2 separate regions of the Homo sapiens genome follow, and region 1 is linked to region 2. Evidence: promoter capture Hi-C in human tissues and cell types (Jung and others, 2019). All regions are on one chromosome and are shown on one strand. Each heading gives the region's core, a stretch centred on a gene start or on the middle of the fragment in contact. The rest is flanking DNA. Distances are from core to core; before and after follow the strand shown.

What was found. The method cuts DNA at HindIII sites, captures the fragments that hold promoters and counts their contacts. A contact is called where the count stands out against the background at its distance.
Region 1: a fragment that was not itself captured here is called in contact with the fragment with the promoter of CTSS in region 2 in 2 of the 25 tissues and cell types used here (IMR-90 fibroblasts and liver).

What each region holds. Positions count from the first base shown.
Region 1 is chr1:150,686,007-150,689,943 of GRCh38, forward strand. The region is part of intron 2 of GOLPH3L (golgi phosphoprotein 3 like); the gene reads right to left. Among named protein-coding and RNA genes, the nearest start is that of GOLPH3L, 9.2 kb to the right of the region's middle. The HindIII fragment of the contact is 5,683 bases long and covers 1-3,937 here.
Region 2 is chr1:150,764,528-150,768,433 of GRCh38, forward strand. CTSS (cathepsin S) reads right to left here and starts at 1,251. Exons shown (of 8, transcript NM_004079.5): 1 at 1,171-1,251; 2 at 111-237. The coding sequence starts at 236. RefSeq lists enhancers at 142-191, 1,122-1,266, 1,125-1,269 and cis regulatory regions at 1,194, 1,197. The HindIII fragment of the contact is 11,511 bases long and covers 1-3,906 here.

The sequences.
Region 1 (3,937 bases), core at 1-2,500, 79 kb before region 2:
TGAGATTACAGGTGCGTGCCACCACACCCGGCTAATTTTTGTATTTTTAGTAAAGATGGGGTTTTACCATATTGGCCAGGCTGGTCTTGAATTCCTAACCTCATGATCTGCCTGCCTTGGCCTCCCAAAGTGCTAGGATTACAGGCGTGAGCTACCGCACCCAGCCAGCATGTCCTTTTTAAACTGCAAAGTCAGATATTTGTTTTTGTTTTGTTTTTCCTGTTTTGAGACAGAGTCGTGCTCTGTGGCCCAGGCTGGAGCACAGTGGTGTGATCATAGCTCAATGCAGCTTCGAACTCCTGGGCTCAAGTGATCCTCTCACCTCAACCTCCTGAGTAGCTGGGACTATAGGTTCACGCAGGGCTGTTTTCATTTTTTTGTAGAGATTGGGTCTCATTTTGTTGCCCTGGCTTGTCTTGAACTCCTGGCCTGAAGTAATCCTCCCATTTTGGCCTCCCAAACTGCTGGGAATACAGGCAGTGAAACACCACGCCCAGTTGCAGAGTCAGTTTGAATGTAAATTCCACAATTTATTGCCCAAATGATCATTTAACTTTGACTCCTATAAAGAGAATGATACCTGCCTTGCAGGATTAAACAATAGAAACTGCAAAATGTTTTGAAAATAAATTATACAAACAAAATATGGAGGCAAAAGTGATGAAATGGCTGACAGCAAGTTTATAGGCACAGTGGTTACAGCCAAAATCCCAAATTCAAGTGGGCAGCTTTGTCTCAATATCAATACTAGATATTTTATATTTTGGGAGAGTACTGTGTGCATTTGGGGATTGGAAGAATTAGGGAGAAGATCTTAATGAAATAGCTTAAGCTATATTTTCCTACTATTAAAACAGGTCTTTGGTCTTCCAGTTTATTTCCTTTTATACCAATAGTAAATAGTTATTTGGGGTTAATATGCCTGGATATAATAAAAAACAAAAGTTAATTTTTTTAACAGCTTATGTTTAAAGAAAAAAACCTGACAAACAAGCCCTTCTGATACAGTTGCCCTATTCACAATCGCAGTAGCTACTGGGAGACTTATTGTTCATTTTGCGCGATTAGGAAACTAAAAGGAAAGACCAGGTAGTAACTTAAATTAGACTTTTAATTTTTTTTTTTAAGACAAGGTCTTGTTCTTTGCTCGGCCTGCTATTAATATTTTAATTATAATAAAATGCTTTAGGATTGAGTCACTTTTTAAGGCGGCCAATTTTCTTCATTCATAGCCAATAATCAACAAGTTGGACACTGACTGACTGTGACTGATTTTAAAAACCTTTTTGGGCTGGGCGTGGTGGCTCACATCTGTAATCCCAGCACTTTGGGAGGTCGAGGCAGGCGGATCACCTGAGGTCAGGAGTTCGACACCAGCCTGGCTAACGTGGTAAAACCCCGTTTCTACTAAAAATACAAAAAATTAGCCGGGCGTGGTGGTGCATGCCTGTAATCCCAGCTACTTGGGAGGCTGACACAGGAGAATTGAACGCGGGAGGCAGAGGTTGCGGTGAGCCAAGATCGTGCCACTACACTCTAGCTTAGGTAACAAGAGCGAAACTCTGTCTCAAAAAAAAAACAAAAAAAAACTTTTTGATTAGTGAATTTTTTTTACCAGCTTTAAAGAAGCTTTTACTTCTAATCTCCTATTGCTAATAAAGATGAACTATACTTGATGGAGGATCATCAGCAGCTTGAAAAAGCGTAGCATTAACATACTTTATAATTAAAAATACATATGAATTTCATACGTATAATTCCCATACGTATAGTGGATAACAGTAGATTGTTTGAAAAAAGATAACTGACAAGTACCAGGAGAATTTTAGCAGCACTGTTCATAATGAACTCTTGAATGTGCATTAACCCATAGAATGAATAGTGGTATATTCATGTAATGAAATATTAATCAGGATGAACTGGATTAAACTATATGCAACAACATGGACAAATCTCACAAACATTATATTGATCAAAAGAATACATTAAAATATTAACCCAATAAAATAGAGTTTAAAAACAGGCAAAACTAAAATATATTGTTTAGGGATATACATACATGTCAAAACTACAGGGAAGTGGGCAGCATGTGATTAGGGGCAGGCATAAGAGAAGCCTTCCAGGATGCTGATATTGTTCTATTGGTGATTACATGACTGTTGGCTTTCAAACTACTTGTTAAACTGTATATATGTGCTTTATACAATTTTCTGGATACACTGTATTTCACAATTTTAGAAAACTTAAACAATAAAGCATGTAACTGGATGTTCAGCTCTCATACTTCAGTTTTAAAACACTGGAGTTCATTAAAAGGAGATGGGATGCTTTCAGACATCTGTGGTTATTCCAGTTGCACATCACTGAAATTATTAGGAACATCCAGTTGATGTTCTTTTTTCCTAGAACCTGTCTCTTTACAGACTAACTCACTCTTATTCCAGTTAAGAGTTATTACCTCCTGGCGGGGCGCAGTGGCTCACACCTGTAATCCCAGCACTTTGGGAGGCCAAGGCAGTTGGATCACCTGAGGTCAGGAATTCAAGACCAGCCTGGCCAACATGGTGAAACCCCGTCTCTACAAAAATACAAAAATTAGCCGGGGATGGTGGCAGGTGCATGTAATACCAGCTACTTGGGAGGCTGAGGAAGCAGAATCGCTTGAATCCGGGAGGTGGAGGTTGCAGTGAGCCAAGATCACGCCACTGCTTTGCAGCCTGGGTGACAGAATGAGATTCTATCTCAAACAAACAAACAACAAAAAAAAGAGTTATCACCTCCTGTAAGTCTTTCCCAACATCTCTTCTTCCCTCTCCTACTGCTCCTTCCCACCACCCATCTGATTTACGTGCTTTTCCTCTGTGTTTCCTTCCTACTCAGAACACACTTATACACATATCACATTGTTCTGAAATGGTCTGCTGACTTTCTGGCTTCTACTCCCAGCATCTCCAACCATCCCTATGCCACTAAACCATAAATTGACCTCAAAAGCAGGGACAATTGTTTTTGTTCTCTCTTTCTATGACATATGAGTCATTCAATAAAATTTTTGGTGATTAAACAAATAAGTGAAAATGTATTGCCATATTTCCAATGGATAATACTTCTTGCCAATTTTTACCACAGTGACATGAGAAATATGATGAAAAGCTTTTCTTTCACAGTAAGTAGTAAGTATTCAATAAATGGCATTACTAGGAGAAAGCTTTCCAAGAAAGAGAGGATGGTTGAAAAACATTATCCACAAATTAAATAGATGAGAAATGAAAAGACCACTAGGAGTCAAAAGCAGTAATTGGCTTACTCCCCTTACAGGTAACTTAAGAAACGATTCTAATAAATGAAAAGTTTTATACATTAGCAAGTCAATTAAAACACTGTTCATGAGTTAATAATCTATATCAAAACTCTTACCAAAGGCAATAATAACAAATAAGCAGATTCCTGATTTCAACAGGAGATAAACCTATTTTATTTTGGTCAGGCTTGTGCTCAATGTTTACTTTCTCAGTTGAGGTCAGTGTTATTGAACTGAGATAGTATCTAATTTTAACTGTGCTTGAAAGGTTATACTCTTCAAATTATATTTAAATTTCTTGATTGTTTTCATAAGACAATGATACTTAATATTTAATTTAATTAGTTTATATTTTTTGAGGCAGTCTTACTCTGTCACCCAGGCTAGAGTGCAGTAGTGTGACCTTGGCTCATTGCAGCCTCTGCCTCTTGGGTTCAAGAGATTCTCCCATCAGCATAGCTAGGATTACAGGTGCATGCCACCACACCCAGCTAATTTTTTTTTTCCTTTAGTAGAGATGGGGTTTCACCATGTTGGCCAGGCTGGTCTCGAACTCCTGGCCTCAAGTGATTTGCCCGCCTCAAACCTCCCAAAGTGCTGGGATTATAGATGTGAGCCACTGCGTCTGGCCAGATG
Region 2 (3,906 bases), core at 1-2,500:
ACACCCAGCTTAAATATTTACTGAAAACACTGCCTGTAAGAACACAATTTTAAGAGGTAGAAAACAGTACTCCTTTAAAAGCATATCGCTCGAGTGGCAATCCAATCTACCTTTTCCTTGTATTGTTTGCCATAGGTTTTCTTCCAGAGATGCCAGTGGTGATCCAGGGTAGGATCTTTATGCAACTGTGCCACTGCAGAGGAGCACACCAAGAGCACACAAACCAGCCGTTTCATTCTGTGTAAGGAAAGGTAACATAGGAAGTGTTGCTATTAGCTGCATATGTTGTGACCACATGTTTTCATAAGAGAAAATAACAATGCAAAGTCTATCAAAGGGACAGACTATTATAAACAGAATTATACAGGAAAATTCCTGGGATATATAGTCACAGGGAACAGCTGCAGATTTATGTCAGAAATACTACTTCCAATGCTTAGTAGCACTTTAAAAAGTGATTTCCAGGAATTTCCCAATATCTGGTAAACCAAACACATCTAGAGGGTTAGAAAACAGGGACTTTCCAGGATTTGCCAACAAATCTAATCAAAGGAAATCTCTTTCTCTCTCTCTCAAAAAAAAAAAAAAATCATCCTTAAGAGAGACAAACCTCTGAAAAATCAGTTTATCTCCTGAATTTTTGAATACATGGGCTCTTCTTAACTGACCTGTTTAAATATCCACAGTCTTTACAGATAGTTAAAAGACAATTCTCATCTATTGCTTTCACATCTTTAGGTAGGTAATTTTCCTTTTTACGTTTTTTTTTTTTTAATGATCAGACATCTGTTTCAAATGAGGCAATTAACTACTCTTTAAAATGCCACTTCTGTATTTAATTCAAGAGACATCAACAGAAATTCAGCGACTAGCTCCCTCAAACTGGATTCTACTTTCTTTTCCATTTCTTTTTAATTGAAAACATCTGGAATTTTAAACATGTAAGCCTTTAAATTATATTCCAAAGAAAGCCATGTTTCAGTCTCAACTTAGATGCTTAGATGCTCAAGCAGACATTAACTTTTTAAAAATAGAGAAGAGGCAAATTGAACGACACGATTTTTTAGTTTACTTCCTGAAACCAAAGATTTAAAACCTAGCAGGCAGAACAAGTTACAAACACAGAGTGTTTGAAGACCAAATGGGAGAAAAAGAACAAAGAGTACATACGTGATAGAACCAGCAGTTGCTCCCACAGTAAGAGTCCTTGAATTAGTGGGCTCTCTTCTAAGATTTCAAAGCAACAAGGAGATTTCAGTTCAATTGACTTGAAAAGAAATTGGAACTTGTCACATGAGGTACTCAAAATGAGGAAGTGAACTTTCATTTCAGTTTCATTTAAAATCTAGCTAGTACAGTCACCTCTAGTCATTTCCCTATGGTCTTGGGGACAAAGTGGATACAGTAAGCCATCAAGAAGAGCCCTTGTCTGAGCCCAGTGGCTCATGCCTATAATCCCAGCACTTTGGGAGGCTGAGGCGGGAGGATCACTTGAGGCCAGGAGTTCAAGACCAGCCTAGGCAATATAGTGAGACCCTGTCTCTGCAAAAAAATTTTTTTTAATTAGCTGGGCATGGTGGTGCATGCTTGTAGTCCCAGCTGAGGGGGAGGGTGAGGTGGGAGAATTGCTTGAGTCTAGGAGGACAAGGCTGCAGTGAGCCATGATTATGCCACTGTGTTTCAGCCTGGATGACATATCAAGACCCTATCTCAAAAAAAAAATTAAATTGAATTTTAAAAACACCAACTTTTACATGGAAAACATTTAGTTATAAAGAGATTTAGATAAAGCTCCCCAAATCCCAGCTCCTTGTATGATTTCCTAGGAAAACCTGTCTTACTGCTTTTAACACAACTCATTCATGATCTGATATTGTCTGGTTCTCACTCAGCCATTCCTTCGTTCATCAAACTCAAAATGTCTTTATTAATATATACTATATGTATAGTTTAGTAATATGCGTGTGTGTGTGTGTGTGTGTGTGTATGTGTTAGTATATTCATGGAAAAAAGGATACACTCAAATATATCCAATTGAGAATGATTACCTGGGTGGGGTGGGAGCAAGACGAACTATCATCTTTTAAATTTGCATTTTCCTAATTACTAATGAGGTTGAGGATCTTTTCACACATTTATTGACCGTTTGAATTTTCTGTGAATTTCCTGTTCATCTTTTTTGCTCATTTTTCTATTGTATTGTTGCATTTTCTTAGTGATTTGTGGGAGGTGTGTGTGTGTGTGTGTGTTGTGTGTTTTCCGAGACGGAGTCGTGCTTTGTCTCCCATGCTGGAGTGCATTGGTGCGATCTTGGCTCACTGCAACATCCACCTCCCAGGTTCAAGCGATTCTCTGCCTCAGACTCCCAAGTAGCTGGGATTACAGGCACCTGCCAGCATGTCCAGCTAATTTTTGTATTTTTAGTAGAGACAGGGTTTCACCATCTTGGCCAGGCTGGTCTTGAACTCTTCACCTCGTGATCCACCCGCCTCAGCCTCCCAAAGTGCTGGGATTACAGGTGTGAGCCACCGTGCCCGGCCAAGGTGTATGTGTTTTAAAAATATATTCTGGCTTCTAATCTTTGACAGTTATATACCCTTAAAAACATCCTCCCTTAGTCTTCCACTTGTCTTTTATTTTATTTTTTCTTCCTTTGCATAAGCCTATGAAATTCCACTTGTCCTTTAGTCTTGTTTATAGTGAGTTTTTCTATATGAAATTTTTTTATGTTGAGGTAGAACATTTTATTCAGCTTTTCCGTATAATCAATCTATACTGTTTTTGTATAAGAAAATTTTCCTCATCCAAATGTAATAAAGATACACTCATCTTATTTTTATACTTTCAGAGAGTGTTTTATTTATCTTTTCTATGGCTACTGCTTTTAGGTGTTTAATTCACCTGGAATTTAGTTTTGTGTATGGTATGACGTAGGGAGCTTATTTTCTTTGTTTTCCAATTTTGATTCTACCTCTATTGTACACCAAATTCTCATACATAGATAGGTCAGTTTCTGAGCTCATGAAGCTGTTCTTTTTATCTTTTGCTACTTCAGTATCACACAGTTTTAATTAAAACAGCTTTGTAATATGTCTCCACGTATGGTAAGGCAAGTCATCTAGGCCACCCTATCTTTGTTCTTCTTTTTAAACATTGTCTTTGTATTTTGTACTTGTTAACTCTTCTTTATATGAATTTTTTGAATCAGTTTATCAAGTTCCCTGAAAAACTCTGTTGGAGTTTTTTGCTTTTTTCTTTTGGAGACAGGGTTTCATTCTGTCACCCAGGCTGGAGTGCAGTGATGCAATCATGGCTCACTGCAGCCTTGACCTCCTGGGCTCAAGTGATCCTCCCGCCTCAGCCTCTGGAGTGGCTGGGACTACAGGTGCACACCACCATGCCTGGCTGATTTTGTTTTTTGTTTTTTGTAGATAAGGGGTTTCACCATGTTGCCCAGGCTGGCCTCAAACTCCTGGGCTCAAGCAATCTGCCCACCTTGGCCTCCTGAAGTGCTGGGATTACAGGCATGAGCCCCCACATCTGGCTATTAGAGTTTTTATTTGAATATATGCATAAATTTAGGGAGAAGTAACATCATTATAATGTTGATTCATCTCAGCTGTAGTAGACATGTTTGTGTTTGTAGCCATACAGTTTTTTTTAAAAAGATACTGCTTATGGAAAATTTAAAACACATGTAAAAGTAAAAATAGTAGTAAAATGAGCTGCCGTGAAACCATTGTCTTGTTTCAACAATGATCAGTACATGGCCAATCTTATTTTATTTATATTCCCACTCTCACTACCTGAATTATATTAAATAAATTCTAGACATTCTGTCATTTCATACGTAAATGTCCCTGTGTGTGTCTTTAAAAGACAGAGACTATTAAACAAATATAATAC